Linked DNA regions of Homo sapiens: region 2 is linked to region 1. The links are contacts of gene promoters, found by promoter capture Hi-C in blood cells and fetal thymus (Javierre and others, 2016). All regions are on one chromosome and are shown on one strand. The core of a region is centred on a gene start or on the middle of the fragment in contact, and the rest is flanking DNA. Distances in the headings are between cores, read along the strand shown.

The links. Contacts are between HindIII fragments. The CHiCAGO score rates a contact against its expected background, and 5 or more counts as called.
Region 2: a fragment that was not itself captured here is called in contact with the fragment with the promoter of PPP3CB in region 1 in 1 of 17 cell types (fetal thymus); the score reaches 10.0 in fetal thymus.

What each region holds. Positions count from the first base shown.
Region 1 is chr10:73,494,612-73,497,507 of GRCh38, forward strand. It overlaps PPP3CB (protein phosphatase 3 catalytic subunit beta), which reads right to left and starts at 1,413. Exons shown (of 14, transcript NM_021132.4): 1 at 1,194-1,413. The coding sequence starts at 1,278. PPP3CB-AS1 (PPP3CB antisense RNA 1) reads left to right here and starts at 1,141. Exons shown (of 5, transcript NR_132104.1): 1 at 1,141-1,206; 2 at 1,531-1,872. RefSeq lists enhancers at 480-939, 1,430-1,619 and a silencer at 1,000-1,349. The HindIII fragment of the contact is 5,148 bases long and covers 323-2,896 here.
Region 2 is chr10:73,808,911-73,811,806 of GRCh38, forward strand. NDST2 (N-deacetylase and N-sulfotransferase 2) reads right to left here and starts at 2,688. Exons shown (of 15, transcript NM_003635.4): 1 at 2,564-2,688; 2 at 1,889-1,993. NDST2-ZSWIM8-AS1 (NDST2-ZSWIM8-AS1 readthrough) reads right to left here. Exons shown (of 18, transcript NR_182658.1): 1 at 2,564-2,896; 2 at 1,889-1,993. RefSeq lists silencers at 2,123-2,192, 2,493-2,896. The HindIII fragment of the contact is 756 bases long and covers 1,123-1,878 here.

The DNA of each region.
Region 1 (2,896 bases), core at 163-2,662:
TTAAGAACCGAAGAAGGCTCAGGTTGAAAATTTTTAATTAAAAAAAAAAAAGAAAAAAGGTTTCCTTGTTTTTAAATATTTTAATGGAAACATATGAGTCAGATTTCAAAAAGTAGGCTAACGGTGTTTAAATACTGTGCCAGTGTATTTGAGAAGCTGAATGAAAACAAAAGTACCTATATTTTAAAAATAAATACAATACAAATAAGGAAAAGTTCATTCTACGATTTCAATTTATCAATCAAGCTACATGGTAAAGAGAATCATTTCAATTGTTTTTCACCTCCACAGCAGTGTTTGAGGTTGGTAGGCTCTCCCAGGAAGCTTGGAATCTTAAGCAACTCTCAATTAGCCCTCAATTTCTCTATTTTAAATTAATCTGCTGACCTGTTGTGGGTAAACATCCATAAATTCTGCCCTGGCTGAGAAACATTTAACTTTTTCGTCTAGGATGAATGTGTGGGTGTGTGTTTGTAAGGGAGGGGTAACTCCTTTTGACCAAAGTGTTGATGGTTTTCTAAGTAAATACTTGCTATCCACAAGAATTTTTTTTTTCGTTTATGCTGCTTTTTCTCCCTTTCTGCACTATAAAGGCTGGCCTTCCAATTCCTGCCCCGACCCTTCACCGTGATCCAATCCCACAAGGTTCCCCTAATTTCTGCTCCGGGTGGCACCTGACGGCCAAAAGTGAACCCCTGCGGTTGTCGCCAGCTAGACGCGGATAGGGCGGACGACTGTCACCGGGGAGCAGGCGTGGGCCAAAGCCGAGGTGATTTCTGACTGCTCACTGGCGGGCCTCGCGTGGCTGAAGGTCTCCGAGCCCCTCGGTTCGCCCCGGCAAGCCAGAAGTGCAGCTGTCGCGGGGCAGGAAGCTAATCGCGGCCCCTGCGCCGCTTTGACAGGCCGAGTGAAGAGAAAACGGGCTCACTGCAGCTAACAGCCTCACCCCTTGGGCTAGGAAGCCACGGAAGCAAAACCTCCGCCCCGGCCTGAAAGCAACCGGGAGACCGCGGAACCACTGCCACCGACTCAGCCCTGCCCAGCAGGGGCCCGCCCAGGGGCCACTCCCCAAGGGAGGCAGCCAGTCACTCGCCCGCCCTTCCGGGCCCACTCCCGAGGGGACGGTCTCCCGCCCGCCCTCACACACAGCTAGCTCTTCAGGCCAGGCCCCCAGGGTTTCGTCCACCTCTCACCTTTGACGACGCGGTCAGCCCCGGGAGGGGGCGGCGGGGGCGGGGGTGGGGGCGGTGCAGCCCGGGCCGGCTCCGGGGCGGCCATGCTGGGCCCGGGGCTCGGCTAGGCTCTGGGCCGGGCGGGGTTGGGGGCGGGGGCGGCGGCTACCAGAGCCAAGCGGCGGCGCCGCCGGGGAACATGGCGGACCCTCTTTCCCTACAGAGGGGCTAAGACCGGCATGCACTGCGCGTGCGGGGGTGGGGGCGGGGTAGGCTCTAGGGACTTGGGCAAAATTACTGAAGCTAGGAGAGAAACAGGACGAGGCCAAGGGATCAGGTTAAAATTCTTTGCATGCAGAATGAAGAATGAGGAGGTGCTGCGATCGAACGACTGCGAGGAAACACACCCGCTCTCATGGCATTCCCAGTAAACTGAGAAGACGTGATTAAACCTCAGGATCTCCTACTAATAGAGAAATGTATAACGATTTAGCTACCAGATCTGAATACTGAAGGGTTGGTAGGGGACCAGAGAATAGAGGAAGCATTGTAGGTTCTAGAGTGGAGAAGGGACCATCCAAAATGGAGTTTGAAAGAGAATTCTGGCCTTTGTGTTTAGAGTCTGGAATTGTCAAGAGTCTGAAAGCACAGAATAAGACTGCAGCTAGAGCAATTTAGGCGCCATAGTTTGTCAAAACAGGTAAGGGGAATAAAGGGGATGACACCAAGAGATGTGCAAAGAATCTGAAGAATTCACCTGAAAAGGATACAACCTCCTCCTGGAAGGCAGAGGAGTAAATAGGGAATTGGAAATTAATTCCTTATTTCTGCACATGCACAGAATCTGGGCCCAGGTGACTTATGGAACCTTTATAGAGACCACGGTGACTGACACTCATGGGAAAGGGGGTAGAGGGGCAAGAACTGACTGTTCATCAAAAATTATTAGATGAGTGTGTCCACGACACCAGGAGATATGTTGAATCATGGACAGGGACCAGCATATCCACTAAGCTCTATATATCTTGATGGTGCAGGATCCAAGTGGGATGGAACAACCAATTCCTGCCCATCCTCCTGCTCAATAATACATGTGCTCAGAATCTGTTCATAATGCATGGTGGTAAGTAAGTAGTAGTCCGAAGGTCCAAGGAGTACCTTTCTACCTCTTCTTTGTGTCAATTTCTATCCTGAGACCCCAGGAAAAGAGGAAGGGAAAGACCCAACAATGGATTTTTTCCAAAAAGGGAACCCACAAGCTATTTTTTAGAGGGAAGAGTCTCGGGAGTGAGGCACAGGTGAAAATGGATCTTTCTGGCATGGAAGGGCCATAACACCACAGGGGAAGGGAAAGGGAGAGGCCCCCACGGAAGGAGAGGAAGGAAGGGACAGGAGGCACGTCACAAACTTATAAGATAGAGGGAAGGCACCTGGAGTACATTGATCAGGAGTGAGTCTGTAAGAAGAGCTTGAATCCCCAGAAAATCTTCCTAAGGAGGGGAGGAAGGAAGTGTATAATGTACTGAGTACTGAATGCTCTGTCAGGAAAGGGATGGGAAACATCCTAGCAGCAATACTAGAAAGGAAAGGCACCCTATTTTAGGACCCATTGATTCCCACCTTGATTGTATATCCTTCAACTCGTCTCTGGCTCCTCACTTCCACTCAGTCAAAAGCCACTTCATATATTTATCCAGACTTCCAGCCCCAATACAAAGAAAGCA
Region 2 (2,896 bases), core at 251-2,750, 310 kb after region 1:
GTTCCCTTTCCCTTTCTTAGAATACCCAAATGAATGTCCAAATTCTCCTCTCTAAGCAAAGCTCAGAGATGGAGCAGTATATGCAAATGATAGGAACAAATCTCCCATCAACAAGAGGCTAAATATCCTAGAAGGCTAAAAACAGGCCTGCTCTGAAAGGAGTTCCTAGCCCATGACCGAGCAGCTGGCAGCCAGCAACAGCTCTGATCTTTCTGTGAGGAAGGGACGGAAAGCCCCGGAAGTCTTCAGAAGTCCCATGCTCCAACAAAATATCAGATAAGGAACTCATGAGTCTGTTAATCTTCTCATCAATCAAACCCAATATCACAGCCAACAGCTTTAACGAACTTGCAGTCAGGTGGACACTATGGTGGGGGAGTTCAAAAGGAAAGAGCAATCCTCATGATAGGTAATCATTCTACCAGTTTCCAAACCCAGAAATTAGGGACTCCCTTACCCGTTGCTTGTGAAACATTACCTGCCCCTGACCTTCACCTCAACTTTGCCAGTCAGGAGATAAAAATGTAACCCCTGAGCAGGCCACACACTGGGTGCTGAGAAAAGCCATACAGCTGAGTCCACTCTACTTCTCCTTCCTAACTTAGCCTAAGTAGTTCTACAACCCTATTCCTAAACAGCTCAGAAGAGTCCCTGAGCTAGTCTGGAGAGACATGAGGTATTGAGTCCAGTTACACAAACAGAACAACTTGAGTAAGGACTGGATGACAGAGAGCAACAGGAGCTTAAGTCACATCCAACCAATGACAGAAGGAAAAAGGACAGTGTGATCAGAAAACAGTTTTAAGGAGGTCTAATTTTGGGGATCTCTTTTATTATTTTTAGATGGAGTCTTGCTCTGTCACCCAGGATACAGTGTGCTAGTGTGATCATAGCCTACTGCAGCTTCAAACTCCTGGGCTCAAGTGATCCTCCCACCTCAGCCTCCCATGTAGCTGGGACTACAGCTTTGCACCACCACACCCTACTAATTTTTAATTTTTTTTAGAGATGGGGGTCTTGTTACGTTGCCCAGGCTGGTCTTGAACTCCTGGGGTCAGACAGACAATCCTCCGGCCTCAGCCTCCTGAGTCTGTTCTTTTTCTTAAATCGACTGCTTCTGTAAGCTTTATTGTCACTATCCCCACTCAGCCTCCTTGTAAGGCTGGCAATCCCTCTCTACCACCCACCCCCAAACACACATCTCAGGGGTGATAAGGCAGAGCTGAGGTCCTTCAGAATTGACAGAGATGATTTAAAAACAGTTCAGGACAGGCGTGGTGCCTCACGCCTGTAATTCCAGCACTGTGAAAGGCCGAAGCGGGTGATCACTTGAGGTCAGGAGTTCGAGACCAGCCTGGCCAACATGGTGAAGCCCCGTCTCTACTAAAAATACAAAAATTAGATGGGCATGGTGGTGGGCGCCTGTAGTCCCAGCTACTCAGGAGGCTGAGGCAGGAGAATCACTTGAACGTGGGAGGCGGAAATTGCAGTGAGCTGAGATTGTGCCACTGTACTCCAGCCTGGGTGACAGAGCTAGACTCCAGCTCAAAAAAAAATAAAAATAAAAATAAAAATAAAACAGTTCAGCTTTGGCCTAGGTAAAACGACACGAGAAGACAGCTGGGGGAGAGGATCAAAATGGTGACGGGAAGGGGTGAATGCTAAGAATGTGATGCAACTTTAGAGAAAACATTGTAGTGAGGAGGTCACTGACGGGAAGTTGATACTCAGGGTGTATCATCCCGTATTTGAGAAATTACAACTTGCCAGCCATTCTTCTAAGAGCTTCACATATATTTAATCTTCACACCAGCCCTAAGAGGTAGGGAAAAGGTACATGCTCCATTATCCCCATTTCACATATGAGTAACTCAGAGAAGCTTAGAACCTTGCCCAGGATCACACAGCTCAGTTGGTGGGAGGGCTGGGATTCGACGTCAGGCCTGTCAAGCTCCAGAGCCGCGTTCTTAGCCGCTGCATTTTAGCTTCATACCTGGAAGAAGCAGCAAGGTTTAGGGAAGGGGCGCCGGGAGCGCCGCAGGCCGGGCCAGTGAACACTGAGGGCCAGCAGGGCTGGGCGGGGTGGGTGTGTGCGGGAGATCTCTGAGGACGGCGAAGCCAGACGGGGGCCGGGGCCGGGCCCGGGCTTGGGGAGGCCGGGACGGCCGGAGCAGCGGCGCGGAGGCTGCGGGCGCCGAGGGGGCCCGGGGCTGGCGGGTGGAGGGGCCCCGCCGAGAGGAGACGGGGGCACAGGTGGATGCGAAGAGCGCACCGGATGTGGGACACCAAAGGGGAAGGGGCCACAGGCGCGCGGCGGCGACTCCGGGGTGACATCGAGACAGCCTCTGGGCTGGGAGAGCCCTGCGGGAAGAAGGGAGCCCGCCCGGTCCGGAGGGGAGCGAGGCGGTTCTGAGGGAGGCCGGCGGAAAGGACCCGGGGCGCGGCGCACGCTGGGCCGCCCGGGACGACCCTGCGGGTGGTGATGGTGGCAACATCCAAGGGAGTCTGTTGGGGGGGCCTGAGCGCGACCGTGGGCGGGGGGGTCTCCTCAGGGGCGGCTCACCCGGAGGACTGGGCGGCGTCCCCGCTGTCCCCGGGCTCCGCCGCGTCCCGGGGCTGCCCGGCTTCCCTGCTTTCGGGGCCACGGGCCGCGTCGCGGCTGCTCCGCCATCTCCGAGCGAACGCTCTGCCGCAGCCTGGCCCAACCACCGCTCCCACCGGGGGAGGCGGCGCGCCGCCGCTGGTGGCACCCGCTCGGATCCACCGGCTCCGGCCCTAGCAGCCGCGCGACCTGGGTTCCGGGAAATCAAGCGGCCCTCCGCAGTGCCGGGCCGAGCCGCGGCCTCCGAGACGGCGGGCTCCGCGCCCCGCCCGCGGAAGCGCACCCCCTCCTCTC